3 separate regions of the Homo sapiens genome follow, and all the other regions are linked to region 2. The links are contacts of gene promoters, found by promoter capture Hi-C in blood cells and fetal thymus (Javierre and others, 2016). All regions are on one chromosome and are shown on one strand. The core of a region is centred on a gene start or on the middle of the fragment in contact, and the rest is flanking DNA. Distances in the headings are between cores, read along the strand shown. Region 1 overlaps ARSB (arylsulfatase B). Region 2 holds the start of AP3B1 (adaptor related protein complex 3 subunit beta 1). Region 3 has its middle 67 kb from the start of WDR41.

Region 1 (2,700 bases), core at 105-2,604, 670 kb before region 2:
CAGCTAATTTTTATATTTTTAGTAGAGATAGGGTTTCACCATGTTGGTCAGGCTGGTCTCGAACTCCTGACCTCGTGACCCACCCATCTTGGCCTCCCAAAGTGCTGGGATTACAGGTGTGAGCCACCGCGCCCAGCCTGAGATTTGAAATTTATTTGTCCGAAGAGGGAGAAAGAAAGGAAAAGACTATAAGAGTTACATTATTTACAAGATAAATGGAAACCAGATGTTCAGGAAAAGCAAAAGCATTTTCTGGCTCTTAGGCCTGACAGAAATTTCTCCTTTGGGAGAAGGAGAAGGTAAGGTGGACAACATCTTTAAAAATGTCATTTTAATAATACGTTAGGTGGTTTTCTTGTAGATGTTTTGAGGTATTTTCTTCTGTTCAAGCTAGGGCCAGAGCACCAAAGTGCAATTCAGTAAAAGTAATTATATGGGGGCCAAAACAATGCAGCTGAAGCACATGGCTCTGTAATGCCTCATTGGATTCAGGGTTAAAATCAAGATGCAAGGATGTCAGACAGGAGGGTGTGTGTGCCCCACTCTCATCCAGGTCCACCAGCAGACCTCACTACTCAATCTTAGCTTTTTTTTTTTTTTTTTTAAATGGACCCGGATGTATTCTCAGTACCTCAAATAGCTGTTAAAATTAGACTTGATGTAAGATCACTTTGTCATCTTGGAAATTCTAGAGGAGCAAACAGCCTGTACATCCTTAGAAATTTTTCAATCAGGCCTTTGCTAAAAGATGAGTCAATATCTATACTCTGGGAAGAGGATGGGCTGTAGATATTTTGAATTGTTTATTAAAACCAAGTTAGGTACTTAAAAATTCAGCTGGACAGAAGGTAGAAATGATATCCTTTTATGAGAATTAAGAAGCCTAACCTGGATTTAGATGAACACACACCCCAAATTCATTTGAAGGGAGACTTGCAGCCAAGAAGGTTATGATGACCACACAGCTCTTCTCACTGTTACATCTCAGCTCTTTTGCTAAAAATCAGGTGATGGTGGGATAGTTGCACAAGCCTGTGAATACACTAGAAACCAATGTCTTTTACACTTTAAATGAGTGACTTGTGTGGTATGTGAATTATATCTCAATGCAGCTGGTACATAAAGCATCAGAGAAGATTTGGTTGTTCAAGAAGCATTTTCTATTTTTTTCCCCCAAAAGCATAGGCTGCCATCATCTTTAGGCTCAGTATTGAAGTTCAAATTTGTGAATCATTATTATGAAGAAAAGCTTCATGTGATTGTCACATGGTTGCTTGGTATTAGTTTTGCCAAGTATGTGAATAGTTTTATTTCTGGAATTCTCCTATCTGTATTATCTTTTAAATATTTGTAGTTCATGCCTTTGCTAATGAAGTGTATCTGTCCTATATTCTGCTAACTGATAGAAAGCAGCTCACACTTAACAGTTAAAGAACCTGAAGTGATTTCCTCAAGCTTTAATGCCCAGTAGTTATTAAAAACCTTAAATAGACCTCCAGTGTTCTGACATTCTAATCACCCATGTAAGGGCTGAAATTATTTTTATGGATACATTTCTTTCTCTGTTACACATTAATTAACAAGTACTTTGTATTTCGTTTTCCATTATATACATAGGAGAAAAGATTGCCATATAAAAGTTATTTTAAGACCAAAGTATTAATTGTATTCAAGATCTTGAATTTATTGAGTCATAGAAAAGGAGAATTTAATTTAAAATGAATTGATTTATTATATAAACTATGTAAAGCTCTTAATTTTCATTATAGGGAAAGTTCAGGACTGAAGAAAGAGCTAGGTCAATTTTATCATCCTCATTTTAAGGTTAATAAGCAGTATATGTCAGGAGATAGCTAAGAGTCTAGCAAATATTTCTTTTTAATAACTTTATCAAAGTATAATTCACATATCATACAATTCACCCAATTAAAGTGTACAATTCAATGATTTTTAATAAATTCAGAAGGTTGTGCCACTATCATGGCAATCCAATTGTAGAACATTTTTATCATCCCCAAAAAAGAAACTCATCCACCTCAGCAATCACTCCCCATTTCCCCCTAGTCCCTCCAGCCCTAGGCAGCCACTAATCTATTTTCTGTCTCTATAGATTTACATGTTGTGGGCATTTAATACAAGTGGAATCATACGTAGCACAGCTTATTTTAATACTTTAAAATATAGAAATATAATATTTTAAAATATAGAAAAGATGGAACATTTGCAGAAACAACTATATTTGAGAAAACCCATTTTCTTCCATGTGAAGTCTAAATTATGGGATAGGCCGTTGATGCCATTTAAATCTGGGGTGAAATTGAGATCATTTTAGGTAGAAAAGTCTTATTTCAGTGCTCACTTTAGTTTGATCTGTTGGCTCTGTTATGTCTAGAGATCCTCTATTAGGAAAGGTTTGTATCTTTCACCAGTGGGTGTCAGCATCTGACTAAAGATGACTCTTCCTAGAACCACTTCTGTAAATAACCTTGAAGCCAGTCTCGCAACATCAGTAACAACAAACATTGTTTGAATCCTGCACTCATTTATGTGATCACCTTAGAGTAAAAACCTGTAACAAGTCACATTAACTGTACATTATTTTTACCATTATATAGCTTTGAAGGATTGAGATTTTATCACCCTTACTGAGTTTCAACTCTGATAAAAAAAAAAACTGTTAGTGTTACATGATAGCGCCTA
Region 2 (2,700 bases), core at 187-2,686:
GACAAATAACACATTTTAGGTGCTCATCATTGGCTCTCCGGAGGAGTATTCTAACAGCTGAATTAAAAACCTGCCAATATTTGACCAGACGATCAAGTTTGGAGGACGTCCCTTCCTCTCCCACCCAGAGCCACGCTCTTGCGTGCTTCCACAGTGACAGTGTGACCTTTTGAAATTTGGAGATCATACTCTCATCCTTGAAAACGCCCCACCGCCTTCCCTGGGGCGGCCGGCCTCCAGGTTCGCGTTCTACCTGGTAGAATCCCTTGACAGTTTCAGTACCTGGCCGCCAGGGCTTTGGGTGTTAATGCCTTCCTTGGACGGGAGGCACTGGGGAGAAGAGAGGGAAGGCGCTGAAACCCACCTGAGAAGGCGGGCTGGGGGAAGGCACCCCGGGAAAGAGGTTTTCTCGGGTGCCAGCACCCGGAGAGAGCTACTCTGGGGCCAGGCAAGCATCCCGCCTAGGCTCCCTAGTGCATATTAGTGAGTAACACGACTGGCGCGCGAGGTGGTCCATTTTATTTTTGGTAGCTAGACGCCAATAGGACGCACCACTTCAGCTCCAAACGGGAACTGGTGGCCCCAAGATGTTTTCTTTTCTTTTTCATTTTTTTGAGACAGGGTCTCGCTCTGTCGCCCAGGCTGGAATGCAGTGGAGAGATCTCAACTCATCGCTACCCCCTCCTTCTGGGTTCGAGTGATCCTCCCACCTCAGCCTCAGTAGCTGGGACCACAGACACGCGCCACCACGCCGGCTAATTTTTATATTTTTTGCAGAGAAAGGGTCTCGCTATGTTGCCTAGGCTGGTCTCGAACTCCTGGCCTCAAGTGATCCACCCGCCTCGGCCTCCCAAAGTGCTGGAATTACTGGCGTGAGCCACCGCGCCCGGTCTGCCCCCAAGACTTTCATTGAAAAGATGGAATGGTCGCTTCTGTGCGGATCCTCCAAACCATCGTTGGGAGAGGCCTCCTTAAAGTCTAGGAGAAAAGTTGTTTGGGACCGATATGAAAGTAAGGCAAAGCCGGATGGAAGAGAGTAGCCGAAACAAGCAAGAAAAGGAAAAGCGATCGTGATGGGTTTAGGAAAGGTGATCTGGCGTGCTAAATGGCATTTCCGGAGAAATCTGAAAACTATTGCTTTACTGAAGTATAGCAAAGAGCTGTCCGGGCTCTGGAAACTCCTTAACGGATCAAAACGGATGCAATGGGTATCCTTCTCCAAAGACACACCTCAAACGGGCCGGGAGCCGGGCAGTTAGCCACCCGCTGCCTCCCCTTCCGCAGTCCGGCTCGCAGCCGCTCAGCTACCTCTAAAGCCCGGAGCAGGAAAGTCCGCGCAGGCCTGGATGGCCCGGGTGGTAATCTAGCAGGCCTGCACACTGCGCATGCGCAGGGGGTGGACTGCCAGGTCGGCTCAGGGAGCCGTGACGAGTCCGGAAGCGCCTGCGCGCGCTCCTCCGTACGAGAACTAGTTTTGTTCCGTGCCCTCTGGACTGGAACCTTTTGGAGAGAACCCCCGGCAGGACCAACCCCGCACCCGCCAGCACCGCGGCAATGTCCAGCAATAGTTTTCCTTACAATGAGCAGTCCGGAGGAGGGGAGGCGACGGAGCTGGGTCAGGAGGCGACCTCAACCATTTCCCCCTCGGGGGCCTTCGGCCTCTTTAGCAGCGATTTGAAGAAGTGAGGAGAAAGGTTTGGGTTGCGGGGATGGGAGGGAGGAGCTGCGGACTCGGAGGAGTGGGCGCCAGGGTGGGCTTCCTGGAGAGGAGCGGGGTCGCCCTGAGGTCTGAGCAGGGCAGGGCGGTAACGTGTCCCGCGGGTGGGTAGGTGGGGTTGGTTGGCGGTGGTGGGAGTTGTGGGAGTTTGGGGCGAATGTGTGTAGGGGTCTCTAGTAGTTTTCAAACTTTAGTGAAAAGGAAACCACTTGGTGAGCTTAGATCCCACCCCTGAAGACACTGATTGAATTGGACTTGGGCTGGGCTCAGGAGTCTGAATTTTGAGCATCGTCTTCTAGTTTATTTACCGTTCGCCGGATCAGACTTTAATACATTCCCTGATTAGGGTGAAAGGAGTGTTTTGGTGAAGGTGAGAGTGCGAGTGTTGCTTGTGGGAAGTTATTTTGTGACCCCGGAGTGTAGGAGCAGAGAGGTGGATTTAGGCTGTTTGAATGGACAAACTGGTTTACACCAGTATTAATGTTCTTGGATTATGTCCTTTGCACTACAGACAAAAACACCAATCCAAAATAAGCATATGAATAGAAAATATTTTAAAAGAGTGTTACTGTGAACAAATCCAAAACTTTTACAGATTAATAATGTGAATTTTAAAAACGAATGTTAAACAAGGTACACTTAGTTTTGTAAAAAGTATCACCGAGAAATGGAAAGAAATCCCAAGTTGTTTGTTTTGGGGGGTGGGTTGGTGGTAGTGGTTACATTTACCAGAATTATCATTTTTACATTTCTCTTATTTTAAATCTTTCATTACTAAGCAATAGGGTCACATAATAGTCTGTCACTAAATTCATGCTAAATTAAGGTAGAATAGCTGTGCTAGTAGCTTTGCAGATCTGTTAGAGGGTATAATTAAAATTTAAATTAAACGTTACTAACAATATTGGGTAGTCTAGAAAGTGCTACTACTTCAAATTGGGATTACATTTTGGCTGTATTGAGGATCAAAATCATATATATAG
Region 3 (2,700 bases), core at 179-2,678, 740 kb after region 2:
TTTTGTGAATGATATTCAACAAAACAATGGATACAGAGAACAATGTAAAAATGAAATACTTGTCAACATCTAATCAGGTTTGGGGCAACCAAGACTATTTTAAGAATATGCCATTTCAGAAACAAATGCTTCAACCCAGCTATCTCTACCGTTGAGTGAATTCATGGTTAATTTACACTAGCTGGTGAAGAAGTTTCATGAAACTGTAAATGCAAAGCAATCCAGCAGGAATGTATGTAATGGAAGAATGCCATCTGCTGGTGAACCCTATCAAATCCATAATTAGGAAAACCTGAGAACACATACCCTGTAGACAAGGAAGATTCAAAGTTTGTGGAAGCATTTTTAATTCTGAGAAATCTGCTTTCATTAAGCTGATGCATACCTTTGATATAAATTATTCATTTTAAATTAACTTGATTACTAATTTCCTGGAATCACTAGTCAGGAAAACCTTGAAAAGAAATCGGCGCAAAGGACTTTTTTTTTCTTTTTGCCAATTTACAAAGTTTTTATATTCATCATTCATCAGTAGTCAGCCAGCGAGTCTGTTCTATTTAAAAACTCTGGCTTTTCATTTAATGCATCCCATCTGTTTCTGAAATAAATTGCAATAATCCGTGTTTAATTTTAATCAATGTATTACTAAATATGCAAATTATATTAAAAGCCATGGTTTGAAAAAGCTTTCATTTGTAAATATGGTAGCTTAAAACAGGAAGCATATCTAAAAGCCATTTAGCTACAGTAGCCTAACTCTAACACTGTAGCTGATTTATAAAGCAGATCACAAGTTGATCTTTCTCCCACAAGGGGATATGTAAAACTGTTGCATATCAGATTTTGTTAACATCTGATGGGCTAGTGCTTATGGTATAAGAGACTCATACTTCAGCAACCATGTCTTTTACATTTAAATTAAGGTAATCTTATTCCATTCTACATCTTTCTAATTTTTTTATACAACCTAACAGATGAATTTGTGTGATTGGTTTATGAATCACAGTTAAAGCAATTTGAGCAAGCCTTTCAATCAATCTTAAAATTTTAGTGTCTAATTTACTTGTGATTTGCATAATTAATTGTGGAAGGGATCCTTTGGGAGTCTCCCTTTTCCCCCTTTTTCCTTTCCTACCTTGTGTCTCACACACTGACTAGATAGATTGGGAATGATACTGGAGTTCTTTTAGGCCTGCTAGATGACTTTGTTAGGAATCCAGAAATTATGTGTTGCTTTGTTCTCTCTGATCTGGCTGGACCAAGAGGTAATTCTGAAAATTAGGTCTGTTATCTGCAAAACAATTCAGTAGCATGGCTGTGATTGAATTGTGTATACAGTTTACCAAGCAATTACCTTAAAGGAGGATTTCAGGACTCTTTCCTATATAAAGGTCATGAGTATGTAGGAATACACACACACACACATAACATTATATATAAAGTTTTATATATAACATTAGATATAATGAAAATATATATTATATATAATGCTGACATATAACAAATTATAGATATGTTATGTATACATCAACATTATATTTATATAACAACATTATATAAAAATCATGTCCATATATTGAATTCTGTCATCTACTAATTGTTGTACTGGATTGGGTAGTACATTACCACCAGTACGGTCTAATTAGTGCCTTGCTAAAGCAGCTTCAAGAATTTTGCCAGCCTGTTGTTAAACACAGTAATTATTAACAATCAAATTATATAAACTTGTAATTTAAAATTTATATTAATGTAATAACTGCTCAAAAACATCACTTTCTAATTATGGTGCTGCATTTTAACATCTATACTCTTAAGATTATTTACATCTATCTTTTGTATCTGTGTGGTACATTTCTCCCCAACTCGACATTTAGTGATATCAAATTGGTAGCTTGAAATTGGCCACAGTGGGAGTGTTTACATGACAGAAATTGGCAAATGCTACAAATCAAGTCAAGGCTATTTCCCTCTCTATATAGCTGGTTGTTAACTATTTACCAGCGTACCACTGTCTTTAATACACACAGAGCAACTCAATACATGTGTCTGTTATTTATTCTTGAGCTCTCCTAAAAGAGTAATAACAGCTTTCATAGACCCTTTTACAAGAAGTGAAATGTATATTTGATTCCCTAAGGAATCTTAGCCCACAATTTCTTGTTAAGCTTTAAAAATTAAGGTTTTTTTCCCTTAGTGTAATAGATAATTTGGAAAATACAGAAAAAAAATATTTTTTCAATGACTTTATTATTTTGAAAGGATGAAAGTAATCACATATTCATAATTTTCTAAACAATTCATGTCTTGCATATTGGTTTATCAGACAACTTATTGCTGAGTTTAAGAGACTGCCAAACAATGCTAAGATTAGAAAGTGCTGGAAAATTAGTTTGTGGAATGAACTCACTGCAATAACATAAATAGTAGAAACATGTCAAGGACCATGTTTGTTAGAAATAAACTTATTTCTCTATGCAGAAGACTTATTAATCATATCTCAGGATGTTTAATAGCGTAAACAAATGGAAAACTTCAGCTTGTGATCCAAGGTCGTTTTCAAATTGGAAATGACCTCAGCCTGCCCCAAGAGGGCTAATGATGTAAAAATAAGTAGGGCCCAGTCCTCTGGGGAATTCGGTGCAGGTCAGCGAGGCTCTTTTGGTGAATGCGGCAATCTGCTCTGCCTCCATAGGCCTTTGT

What was found. The method cuts DNA at HindIII sites, captures the fragments that hold promoters and counts their contacts. A CHiCAGO score of 5 or more calls a contact.
Region 1: a contact is called between a fragment that was not itself captured here and the fragment with the promoter of AP3B1 in region 2, in 1 of 17 cell types (naive B cells). The highest score is 5.0, in naive B cells.
Region 3: a contact is called between a fragment that was not itself captured here and the fragment with the promoter of AP3B1 in region 2, in 1 of 17 cell types (M2 macrophages). The highest score is 7.4, in M2 macrophages.

What each region holds. Positions count from the first base shown.
Region 1 is chr5:78,964,831-78,967,530 of GRCh38, reverse strand. All of the region lies in intron 2 of ARSB (arylsulfatase B), which reads left to right. Among named protein-coding and RNA genes, the nearest start is that of ARSB, 19 kb to the left of the region's middle. The HindIII fragment of the contact is 206 bases long and covers 1,252-1,457 here.
Region 2 is chr5:78,293,434-78,296,133 of GRCh38, reverse strand. It overlaps AP3B1 (adaptor related protein complex 3 subunit beta 1), which reads left to right and starts at 1,436. Exons shown (of 27, transcript NM_003664.5): 1 at 1,436-1,682. The coding sequence starts at 1,555. RefSeq lists enhancers at 176-225, 600-1,173. The HindIII fragment of the contact is 5,219 bases long and covers 1-2,700 here.
Region 3 is chr5:77,558,415-77,561,114 of GRCh38, reverse strand. It overlaps a transcript of WDR41 not described here. Among named protein-coding and RNA genes, the nearest start is that of WDR41, 67 kb to the right of the region's middle. The HindIII fragment of the contact is 1,479 bases long and covers 689-2,167 here.